Regions from separate parts of the Homo sapiens genome. Here region 2 is linked to region 1. Evidence: promoter capture Hi-C in 16 types of primary human blood cells and fetal thymus (Javierre and others, 2016). All regions are on one chromosome and are shown on one strand. Each heading gives the region's core, a stretch centred on a gene start or on the middle of the fragment in contact. The rest is flanking DNA. Distances are from core to core; before and after follow the strand shown.

What was found. Contacts are between HindIII fragments. The CHiCAGO score rates a contact against its expected background, and 5 or more counts as called.
Region 2: a contact is called between a fragment that was not itself captured here and the fragment with the promoter of RPS7 in region 1, in 1 of 17 cell types (monocytes). The highest score is 7.4, in monocytes.

The regions. Positions count from the first base shown.
Region 1 is chr2:3,571,533-3,577,894 of GRCh38, reverse strand. RPS7 (ribosomal protein S7) reads right to left here and starts at 2,635. Exons shown (of 7, transcript NM_001011.4): 1 at 2,545-2,635; 2 at 2,211-2,303; 3 at 2,007-2,078; 4 at 1,265-1,408; 5 at 121-185. The coding sequence starts at 2,285. It overlaps LOC124907726 (a long non-coding RNA gene), which reads left to right and starts at 2,786. Exons shown (of 2, transcript XR_007086196.1): 1 at 2,786-3,760. RefSeq lists a silencer at 2,089-2,378 and enhancers at 1,930-2,506, 2,507-3,082. The HindIII fragment of the contact is 5,628 bases long and covers 1-3,975 here.
Region 2 is chr2:680,522-686,883 of GRCh38, reverse strand. TMEM18-DT (TMEM18 divergent transcript) reads right to left here. Exons shown (of 3, transcript NR_183417.1): 3 at 4,021-5,628. Among named protein-coding and RNA genes, the nearest start is that of TMEM18, 6.3 kb to the right of the region's middle. The HindIII fragment of the contact is 1,997 bases long and covers 2,623-4,619 here.

The DNA of each region.
Region 1 (6,362 bases), core at 1,386-3,885:
CAAATGCTGCTACTCAAAAATTCCCACTTGAACATCTGTTTTCATAAACTACAACTTAAACAAATTAAGAGTTGTTAATAAGAGGGGTACACACATTTCTGAAACTACTAAAATACTCACCTCCTGGGACGCTTTTGCTTATTTTTTGTACGGCTTTTTCGAGTTGGCTTAGGCAGAATTCTCCTCTGTAAGGTAAAAATTATCATGTAACAAAATGAAAAAAGACTTTAAATTGACAAAAAGCTGTAACTGCCATACTGCTTTAAAAGCAAGAAGAATGGCAGGGTAAGTTCAAAGTTCGAGAAGGCTAAACAACTTAGACGAACAATTGACTGAGCAAACCCTTCTATGGAGTTACTTCCTGATTCTTGAATAAATCATTCAGAATCCACAGCCTCTACTAATACGCCAGTGGACAAAATCTCCCAGATACGCCTTTCCCCATGCCTATGACCCAGAATACTACTTTTATTCCAGATCAATCCTGGCACTTCATTCCCCATAGACTTCAGTTTGCACCAATCCCCCATCCGAACTGTAACAGGTTTCTTCTTTTTTTGAGATGGAGTCTCGCTCTGTCGCCCAGGCTGAAGTTCAGTGGCGGGATCTCGGCTCACTGCAAGCTCCACCTCCCGGGTTCACGCGATTCTCCTGCCTCAGCCTCCCGAGTAGCTGGGACTACAGGCGCCCACCACCACGCCCAGCTAATTTTTTGTATTTTTTAGTACAGACGGGGTTTCACCGTGTCAGCCAGGATGGTCTCGATCTCCTGACCTCGTGATCCGCCTGCCTCAGCCTCCCAAAGTGCTGGGATTACAGGAGTGAGCCACAGGGCCCGGCCTGTAACAGGTTTCTTAGTTTGATCATCTATGTAAGCAACCCACTAGACTTGTGGAAATTTAAATATGGGAAATCATTTTCATAACTCAAAACACAGCAGTCTGTCACTTTACAGACTTCTTGTTTCGACTCTTAATTAAAGAACGTACTTTATCTTTCTTTTTAAAACTTATTTTTTCTATTTTTTGTAGACAGGGTCTTACCATGTTGCCCAGGCTGGTCTCTACAGTGATCCACCCGCCTCCACCTCCCCGTGCTGGGATTACAGGCCTAAGCCACGGCGCTCTGCCTGTACTTTATCTTTCTACCCAATTGGATTCATAAAAGGATTGTTTTCATGACTCCAACTACCAATGCAGTCTAAATACAAGCAATTTTAGCAAAATTCACAAACAGAAACGTGCTGCAACAGTAGAACAGATACCTGAGCGATAAAGACGACATGCTTCCCACTGAACTTTTTCTCCAATTCGCGTACTAGCCGGACTTGGATTTTCTGGAAAGATTTCAGTTGAGGAACGGGAACAAAGATTATGATAGCTTTCCGACCACCACCAACTTCAATTTCCTAAAGAAAAAAACAAAAATCCACTGTGTTAACTGCTTCAGAAAGTAAACGTTGTGGTCAAATTAGAGGATAAGAAGACCTTATCACTAACACCGTAGCTGCACTACAAACTAATACTAGTTTTGAGTTAATCATAAATGCATCCTTCGGAAATGTTCTCATCTCTCTCCAACCTTCACATTTCCTTATTCCAGGAAGGGAGACTGTTCAGGCCAGGAGGCCAATCACTACCACTTCTGCACCCCCACTTGCGGCAACTCCGGGCTAAGGGTAGAGAGAATCTCATCCTGAGCTCCCCACAGCTCTTTGCCGTATCTATAACTAAGTAAGGGCAAATAAGGTCCGAAATGGGCCCAGGCCCTCCCTACTCCACGTTTCTCCACCGCCCGCATGTGGACAGCTTAAGCCGCAGGGTACCTGCAACCCCACTCCCCGCACCTGGGCGGTATCACTCCCAAACAACACGGCCGAACCTGAGTTCAGGTTAGGCGGCCAGGCGGCAAGTCATCATCAACCGTAACCCAGGTCCAACCCTCTCAGGCACTGCGCGGGGAGACGCGCCGCAACCTCCCTCCCAGCCGAGGGAGCGCCAGCTTACCTTAGCTGCCGTAATATTCAGCTCCCTGAGCTGAGCCTTGAGGTCCGAGTTCATCTCCAGCTCCAGAAGAGCCTAAGAAGCAACGAACAGCAGGACCGACCCTGAGCGCGCGTCCGAGCACCCCGGGCCCAACACACGCGCGGCCGCCTCCCCTCCCGGGCGGGGCGCCTCCCCCCACCCCAGACCCCAGGGAAACCCTCTCACCTGGGAGATGCCGGACTCGAACTCGTCCGGCTTCTCGCCATTGGGCTTCACGATCTTGGCGCTCGAACTGAACATGGCTTTCTCCTGGGAGAACTGAAGGCACAGCGGTCAGCGTTACGCGGCCCGGGCTGCAGGCGCCGCTGGCTCGCCCTCCCGCCCGCACCCCCCGGCCAGGCCCCGCTCGCCCCGCAGAAGCCATCGGAAAGCACAGGGCGGGTAATCGGCTGTATCCCCACCCTGTGAGCAAGGCTCGCCCCTCCAGGGCCTGACTCCAAAAGGCGTTTTCCTCAACCCAAGAAGAAAAGTTCTGTCGGAGAGCAGGCCGCCAACCTACCTTGCCGAGCGCCGGCTTAGGAAGAGACCCAAATCTCGCGAGAGCACGTCAAAATCCGGCGTCCGAAGGCAAGAGGCGGAAACAGCGCGAGGAGGAGGGCGGAAACCGGAACATCACTGAGAAGCGGTAGGAGGCTAGAGAGTCCCAGGAAGCGGCTCTGGGGACGAGTGTCTTGGTAACGCTTTTCCGCCCTAGGATTCGTACTTTGGTGCCGTTTCCGAGCGTTCCGGTACCGGCTCCCAAGGTTCCCGTCTTCAGTGCAGGTTGCAGGCGGGAACCGGCCTCGTCCCAGCCCTGGGCCTGGGAGAGAGAAGGAGGCCGAAGAAAACCAACTTCGGCAACCTCCGGAGACAGGACGTTTAAAAAAGGCTAACTTGGCTGGGCGCTGAGGCTCACGCCTGTAATCCCAGCACTTTGGGAGGCCGAGGCAGGAGGATCACTTGAGCTCAGGAACCAGCCTGGGCAACATGGCGAGACCCCATGTCTACAAAAAAAAAAAAAAAAAAATTAGCCAGTCATGGTGGTGCGCGCCTGCAGTCCCAGCTACCCCGGAGGCCGACGCGGGAGGATCGCTGGAGCCGAAAGGTCGAGGCTGCCGTGAGCCGAGGTTGCACCACTGCACTCCAGCCTGGGCGACAGCGCAAGACCCTGTCTAAAAATAAATTTAAAAAAAATTGCGAGGCCTTCATTCTATGCTAGTACTGTACTAGGTGCTAATTATTAAGTAAAACCGACTGAACTCTTGCCCTCATGGAGCTTACAGTTCAGTGGAGAAGACATTACCTAAAGCAGTATGACTAAATATATAATGACATATTGTAATAACTTACATAACAGTACAATGAGAGGGTGGGGAGGGATTATTTATGCTTTAAGAAGTCGGGAATCCTGGAACGGAATGACATTAGACTGAGACACGGAAGAGCCGCAGGATCTATTGCTGGGGAAGAGCATTCCAGACAGGGAGGAACTCGTGCCGAATGATCCCGCTGTGGACAGGGAATTTAATCTGAGCTTCGGTTTCCTCTTCTGTCAAATGTCATGCAAGAGTTACTTTCAGCCGTGGTCCAGGCACTGTGAAAAATGCAGAAGCCACACTAGGTGCCCTCTCTCAGGATTCCCAACCACCTTTACCAAGCAGAGATGGTATTCATCCCACATTTTTAATGCTAGATATGCTCCCGCCCGGTGCTTCTCTAATAATGTTTTTTAAAAGGTAAGTGACTGTCTCCTTGGAAAATTAAGGATAACTTGAAGTTTCTTCCAGATAGAAAGTAAACTACAGCTGCGTCTACAATCTCATCTGGGCAGTCGTTCTGAGCCCTTTTGTCGAACTAGGTCCATTTCCTTACTCCACATGCACTTTTCGACCTGGCTTTTATCTCTGCTGCTCTATAAAAGTAGTAATCTAAAAGTTCATCCAGTAAAGCTTTTTCTCTGTGAACCTATCACTTGAGAACAAAAAAAATTAAAGTTATTTCTGGTTTCCAGTCCTTTGTTGAATAGGAGTGGTGAGCAAGGACATCCGTGCCTTGTTCTCCATCTTAGGGGAAAACCATTCAGTCTTTCACCATTAAGTATAATATTAGCTCTAGGATTTTGCAGGTATTTTTAATCAAATTCAGGAAGTTCCCTCTGTTTCTATTTCTGAGAGGTTTTTTTAAAATCATGGGCCGGGCACGGTGGCTCACGCCTGTAATCCCAGCACTTTGGGAGGCCGAGGCGGGTGGATCACGAGGTCAGGAGATCGAGACCATCCTGGCTAACACGGTGAAACCCCGTCTCTACTAAAAATACAAAAAATTAGCTGGGCGAGGTGGCGGGCGCCTGTAGTCCCAGCTACTCGGGAGGCTGAGGCAGGAGAATGGCGTGAACCGCCGGGGGCGGAGCCTGCAGTGAGCCGAGATCGAGCCATTGCACTCCAGCCTGGGTGACAGCGAGACTCCATCTCAAAAAAAATATATAAATAAAAAATAAAATAAAATCATGAATGGATGTTGGAGTATGTCAAATGCATTGTTTCTATGAACTAATATGATTATGTGAGTTTTTCTTTTTAGCTGTTAATGTGCTGTTAATATACATAAATGCTTTTCCTTTCTAACTCTTTAGCTTTGAGCCTCATGAGATCCTAAGAAATGTGATTTTTAAAACCTAGAACCTGATAGAAGTTGATAGAGGTTGCACATGTATTTTTAATAGGTAGTTTCAGGATCATAATCACAACTTAGAGGGTCATTCTACTAATTTTATGTTAGGAAATGCCTACTAATCATTACATTAGATTGTTTTCCTGGTTTTACTAGTACTAGCTTCTTTATTATTTAACCATACAATAAGTGAGTCGATAATACCAACATGATTGACAATGAACAGAAATATCATCTATGCAATCCACTTACTTTTAGAACACTTTGTTAACTCTTTTATGTATCATTATGGACATGGGACATTTCAGATTTGCTGTACATCAATCAGTCTCAGCCAATATTCTCCTTTGATCCTCAAATTGTCTCAGTTGTGACCAGGAGGGGCCCCTCTTAGATAAGCAGCCGAGTCTTGTCATTTCTATGAATGTCTGAACATCTTGTTTTCTGGCACAAGATATTCCAGGCTCCTCTTGTAATTTTCTGCCTGAGACATAGAATGAGCCTTTTCTCCTAGAAGTGCTGATACTTTTGTTTTTGTTTTTCTGGAAAAATAGTACTGGAGACCAGAATTTTGGCAGCAGGAGGCATCGTGGGGCTCCTCATAAGCCGTTTCAGCGGACAGAACTTAGAAAGATGGCATTTAAAATAATTTTTTCATAAAAGATACAAGTTCACATTGACATTCTCAATCCACTTCTAACAGAACAATTCCTTCTGAAATCCTCGATTCTATCATAGCATCTCCTTTTCTCCTGTAATAAAAACCTTGCTTCCTAAACACAAAAATACAATTACTTGCTTTATCTGACACTATGAGAAAATACATTCAAAATAACAATGCAGGTGGGCCGCAGTGGCTCACACCTGTAATCCCAGCACTTTGGGATAATCCACCCAGGGTGAGTGGATCACTTGAGGTCAGGAGATAAGCCTGGCCAACACAGGGAAACCCTGTCTCTACTAAAAATACAAAAATTAGCCAGGTGTGGTGCCACCCGCCTGTAATCCCAGCTACTCGGGAAGCTGAGGCAGGAGAATCGCTTGAACCTGGGTGACATGAACTCCTGACCTCATGTGATCTGCCCACCCTGGCATCCCGAAGTGCTGGGATTACAGGTGTGAGCCACCATGCTCAGCCCTTGTTGACTTTTGAATATGTGAAACACTCTGCTTCTGAAAGTCAAAGCCATCTAAGGAGGTCACTCCCTTGAGAAGGCCACACTCCACCGGCCCCTGCCTTCCCTCCTGCACCCAACCTTGCTTTCTGGTTCATGCTTCCTGGGTTTCTTTTTGCTTGAATGTATATTTTCTTACCTCTCCTTCATTCTTACACAAAAGCAGGATTTGATTTTTGCATTTTGTGTTCGCCTAAACATATTTCCTGGAAATCCCTCCATGTCAGTTCAGGAGACCTCCCTCATGCTTTTTCACCACGGCGTCGCTCTCCGCTGGGCTGTCAGACCACTTTCACCCAGCCCGTGTTCTGTGGAGACACTTGGACTGCATCCGAGTCATACTCAACATTTTGAAATTTTAAACAATGCCCCACAAATAAACTTAGGCATATGCGTTAGGATGCTTTTGGAGCAGCCCCTTTGGGATAAATTTCTAGAAGTGGGATCTCAGCCTCAAAAGGTAAAGGCATAAGTAATTTTGTTACGCATTGCC
Region 2 (6,362 bases), core at 2,372-4,871, 2.9 Mb after region 1:
CAGCATGGGGGAAATCCACCCCCATGATCCAATCACCTCCCACCAGGTCTATCTCCTGACACATGAGGATTACAATTCCACATGAAATTTGGATGGGGACACAGAGCCAAATCATATCATTCCAACCCTGCCCCCTCTCAAATCACATGTCCTCACATTGCAAAATCAACCATGCTTTCCCAACAGTCCCCCAAAATCTTAACTAATTCCATCATGAACTCAGAATTCCAAGTCCAAAGTCTCATCTGAAGCCAGGCAATTCCTTTCTGACTATGAACCTATAAAATCAAAAACAAGTTAGTTACTTTCAAGATACAATGGGGGTACAGGCAAAGTAAAGGCTTCCATTCCAAATGGGATAAATTGGCCAAAATGAAGGGGCTACAGGCCCCCATGCAAGTCCAAAATCCAGCAGGGCTGTCATTAAATCTTAAAGCTGCAAAATAGTCTCGTTTGGTTCCATGTCTCACATTGAGGGCATGCTGACACAAGAGGTGGGCTTCCAAGGCCTTGAGTAGCTCCACCTCATGTTTTGCAGGGTTCAGCCCCCACAGCTGCTCTCAAGGACTGGCACTGAGTGCCTGCAGTGTTTACAGGTGCACTGTCAGTGCACTCTCATGCTGCTATAAAGAACTGCTCAAGACTGGGTAATTTATAAAAAAAACAAAACAAAACAGCTTTAATTGACAGTGCAAGCTGTCAGTGGATCTGCCATTCTGGGATCTGGAGGATGGTGGCCACCATACCTATGGTGGCCCTCTTCTCACAGTGCCACTGGGCAGGGACTCTGTGTGGGGGCTCCAAACGCACATTTCCCTTCTGCACTGACCTAGCAAAGCTTCTCCATGAGGGCCCCACCCCTGCAGAAAACCTTCTGCCTGGACATCCAGGTGTTTCCATTCATCCTCTGAAATCTAGCAGTAGGTTCCTAAACCTCAATTCTTGCCTTCTGCACACCGGCAGGCCCTACAGCATGTGGAAGATGCCAAGGCTTGGGCTTGCACCCTCTGAAGCCATGTCCCAAGTTGTACCTTGGCCCCTTTTAGTCATGGCTGGAGCTGGAGTGGCTGGGATACTGGGCACCATGTCCTGAGGCTGCACAGAGCATCTGTGCCCTGCACTTGGCCCACAAAAACACTTTTTCCTCCCAGGTCTCTGGGCCTGTGATGGGAGGGCCTGCTGTAAAGGTCTCCAACAGGTCCTGGAGACATTTTCCCCACTGTTTTGACTGTTAACTTTTGGTTCCTCATTACATATGCAAATTTCTGAACGTGGCAGCTTGAAATTCTCCCCAGAAAATGGGTTTTTCTTTTCTACCACATAGTGTCAGGCTGCAAATTTTTCAAATGCTCTGCTTCCCTTTTAAACATAAGTTCCAATTTTAGATGTTCTCTTGTCTCTAATGTATATGACTATATGCATTAGAAACATCCAGGTCACATCTTGAACACTTTGCTGTTTAGAAATCTCTTCTGCCAGATACCCTAAATCATCTCCCTCAAGTTCAAAGTTCCACAGATCTCTAGGGCAGGGGCAAAATGTCACCAGTCTCTTTGCTAAAGCATAGCAAGAGTGACCTTTACTCCAGTTCCATGTAAGTTCCTTTTCTCCATCTGAGATCACCTCAGCCTGGACTTCATTGTCCATATCACTATCAGCATTTTGGTCAAAACCATCTTCAACAAGTTTCTGGGAAGTTCCAAACTTTCCCACATCTATCTGTCTTTTTCTGAGCCCTCCAAACCTCTGCCTGTAACCCAGTTCCAACGCTGCTTCAATGTTTTCAGGTATCTATAACAGTACCCCACTTCTGGTACGAATTTTCTGTATTAGTTTTTTTTTTCACTCTTTTATATAAAAAACTACCTGAGACTGGGTAATTTATAAAGAAAAGAGGTTTAATTGACTCATAGTTCTGCATGGCTAGGGAGACCTCAGGAAACTTACAATCATGGTGGAAGGTGAAGAGGAAGCAAGGTATGTCTTACTTACATGGCAGCAGGAGAAAGAGAGAGAGTGAGGTGGGAAGTGCCACACTTTTAAGCCATCAGAATTCATGAGAGCTCACGAGACCACCATGGAGGAAATCCTCCCCCATGATCACATCGCTTCCCACCAGGCTCCTCCCCTGACATGTGGGGATTACAATTTGACATGAGATTTGGGTGAGAACACAAAGCCAAACCATATCACCATCCAAAAAATAAAGGAAGCAGCACTGTGTTTTCCATTTACATTACATCAACATGTGCAGAAAATATTTGTAAATAAACAGTGTTGGTCTCATGAACTAAAAAGAAAAGAGATAAAAAGAGGACCCCCTGAGGACAGCAAGATAAACACCTTCATCTTTAGAGGAGGCAACAACATTCGAGTCCTAATGGTTGGTCTTTATTAGGCATGTGCCATGTGCCTGGCACAGAGCTGGGCATTTAAGGCATTTCATCCCAAATCCTTAAAACCACACATTAGAAAAGTATTATTGTCCTTATTCTCACAAAGGCAAGCTGAGGCTTTGATAATCAAAAAACAGTATTCTAAGGTCATTCCAAGTGAGAACTCATATTCACATAAAATCTTCCCTGATCTAAGGTCCATTTTCTTTTTGATATTCCACAAGCTTATAAAATTTGAGAGAAGAAAATGGAAAGAGAACCAAGTTCTGTCTGTGCTCAGTGGTACCCTTGGTGGTGTTGTGGGCCAACTTGTGTCCCCAAATTTATATGTCAGGTCCAAACCCCGCATCTCAGAAGGCTGCAGTGATTGGAGACGAGGCCTTTGAAAGGAAAGTGAGTTAAATGAGCATATAAGGGTGGGCCTCGATCCTACCTGACTGGAGTCCTTATAAGAAGAGAAGATCAGGACAAAGACACACACAGGAGGATGACCCTGTGTGCACATGGGGAGATGTGTCTGCAAGCCAAAGGGAAAGGCCTCAGAAAGAACCAACCTGTCAATGTCTTAATAATGTTAGACTTTTGGCCTCCAGAACTGTAAAGAAATAAGTTTCTGCTGTTCAAGCTGCCCAGGCTGTAGTGTCTCATTATGGTGGCCCAGGAAGTCATACAGTAGTGCAGAAAGTCAGAGAACCACAGCAATTCCTAAGGAAGGACCACTTCACGTGAAGATTGGCATAAACTTCCCTGAATACCAACATCATTACAAGACACATCAGCCTAAACTTATCAACATATGTCAAGATGTGAATTTGCACCAATGAGAAATGTACACTGGGCAGGCTAAATCCTGCCAGCTTCATTCTCTATGAGTGTGTAAATTTCTGAAGATTAATTTTTATGTCAGAGAAACTGCCCTAACAATCAATGAACTCCAAAGACCAATCTGCATATTAAAGCCTCAGGAATAATCCCCTGATTTTGGCTTCTCATCTCAAGCAGGCGTTTCATACTTGTACCATCCATCCTGGGGACTTTTGTCTCTCTGTGATGCCAGGAGAATAGCAGGTACACCTAAGTGAACACAAGGTAAACCATACCCAGCAGGGTAGCCTGGGTCTTTTAATTCAGTAAGAATGAGCTATGATTGCTTTAAGTGGAACTGGAAATTTCATTGCCATTTAACAACTGCATTTAAAATTACACTTGAGTGAGCTAGAGTGCATTACAAACAAGTAGGATGGTAAACCCCAGTAATCACTGTCCAGTGTCTGGGACACCCACAAGTCTTCCCTACCTGCCCTGAATTGTTAGAGAAAATAAAAGTGGCTGCCTTGAAGGTAGCCAGAGGCCCCAAGGTTATAGGAGAGCAGAGATTTGCCCCTGCTGGCTCTCTGAGAGGGTTGCCATAGAGACAGAAGGAAAGATGAGTCCAGCCTGTATAAGTTGGGCACAGCCAGTCAGGCATAGAACAGACATGGGCAGGAAGCTGCAAACCTTGCCTTCGTGTCCCTAGTGTGAGCCATTTTCAGTGATCAGAAAAGTTGCTTTGGAGTCCTTGATGTTTCCAACCCATTGTATTAGTCCATTCTCATGCTGCTATAGAGAACTGCTCAAGACTGGGTAATTTATAAAGAAAAGAGCTTTAATTGACTCACAGTTCCTCAGGGATGGGGAGGCCACAGGAAACTTACAATCATGGCAGAAGGGGAAGCAAACACATCCTTCTTCACGTGGCGGCAGCAAGGAGAAGTGCCCAGCAAAAGGGGGAAAAGCCCCTTATAAAACCATCAGATCTCATGAGAACTCACTCACTATTAGCAAAACAGCATGAGGGTAACTGCCCCCATGAATAAACTACCACCCATGGGGTCCCTCCCATGACACATGGGGATTATGGGAGCTACAATTCAAGATGAGATTTGGGTGGGGACACAGGCAAACTGTATCACTCATTAAGGAGGGTTAGAATAAAAATGCTATGACAAACATCTTGGAATTTCTGTAGGCATGAATTCAGAGGTTGAAAGGCCATATTTGGGCAAAACCCTCAGATACTGCCTCCTCAGTGTGTTACTTTTGGAGAGAAATGATTATTTCCTAATAATCTCCTACTATACAAAAGAATTTTCTAATTAGAGGAAAAGGGAGGGATAGCATTTTTCTTGGGTAGGGAGGGAGAGGGAAGAATGCATCTGAGTGCTGGTGCAAATCACACAAGCTTTGGAATTGGCCAAGTCAGACACCAAACTATGCTTCCAGCGCTCACGAGCTATGTCCTTTCAGACAAAGGATGCTACTTCTGAGCCTCAGTTTCCTCACGGCAATGTGAGTAGAGTAACACCTCTCCTACAGGGCAGCATAGAAGCATTTAGGGAATGTGTCCATCTCTGGATTTCTGCTTCCCATGGTGGCCAAGTGAGCCCGTCTAATGTCACTCTCCTGCAGGGAATATCTAGACAATGAGCAAATATAAAAAGTGAGTGGAGATGAAAAGCATGGATTATGGGAGGGGAGTGTGATGTGTGGAAGAAACAAAGGGAAAGAGGGCTTTTATGGTTTTTAGCTTAGGGTGAGTCTGACGCCATGCCATGCGGAGTTGCCAAAACACCAACAGGAAACCCTTGGTCTTTCCCTCCTGAAGAAATTGGGAATATGCCTGCTAAAAATTGAGAAGGAAGGAGAGAATCAGAGATGGAGAACCCCAAATTCTGTGTATAACTTCCATCCAGAACTCCAGTTGACATCCGAACGCTGAATGTGTGAGGCAAACTCCACGAAACACAAGAAGGATAAAAGAACCAAATTAAGAATTCAGCTGCTGTTCAACAGGCAGTTTGCAGTCTGTCAAACCAACTTAATGGTCTCATCACACACACGCGTGCGCGTGCATGCACACACACACACACACACACACACACACACAGCTGGAAAAAATAACAGAGCCCAGACTCTCCACGACATGATATTTGCAATGCCCAACAAGTCATGCTAAATTATCCACAATTGCAGAACCGGGGAAGTGTGGCCACCGCTCTAGCAAACAGACACACTCAGAATCAGAACAATCCCCTTGCTGTGCTCAGAGGTGGAGCTTCCTGCTGTATCCCTGCTCAGTGACGGGAATCAGGGCCTGCACCCACCACCAGGATGAATCCTGCCTTGCCGCGATTTTACAGCTGCAGCGAAGGACAGTTCTGCAATCATGGGAAGTCTAATGTTCAGTCCTCATCTAATAAAGAGAAGAAAAAGAATGAGAGAGAAAAAATGAAGAAATAATGCTAAAAATTAACAATATAAATTCACAGAATCAAGAAATTTATCAAACACAAGCAACATGAATACAAAGAAAACTAATTCTAGGCACATCGTGGTCAAACTGCTGAAACCAAGATAAACAGAATATTCTGAAAACAGAAAAATGACATGTTATCTATGGGAAAATGAGGATTAGAAACATCACTGCTTTTCTACAAGAAACTATGGCAGACAGAAGGCTGTGGAATATCTCTCATGTGGTCAAAGAAAAGAAAGAAAAGCAGTATTCAACAATTCACAGAAAAAATATCCTTTAAAATGAAGACAAAACAAGAGCATTTTTCAGATGAAGTCGATTCATCCCCGACAGATCTGAACTGCATGGGATGCTTATGGCAATTCTTTAGTCTGAGAGGAAATGATACCACCTGAAAATGCTCAGAAAGGAATGAGAGCTTTGGAAATGGTAAATTAAGCATTGCTGTCAAATGCTTTATTGTAAACCGCATTGTACAAACTGACAGAGGCATCAGATTTCACATCAGGGTCAAACTGGTGCAGCCCAGAGACACAAAGGGAGGAACCAGGAACCCGCACAGAAGCTGCCCGGGGTCGTAGACCCAGCCCGTGAGGTTGGTGTCCTGCAGGATGTTGCTGAGCTTGGCAAGTTCAATGGGGATAAATGGAGAACACAGTGGTGGAGATAAG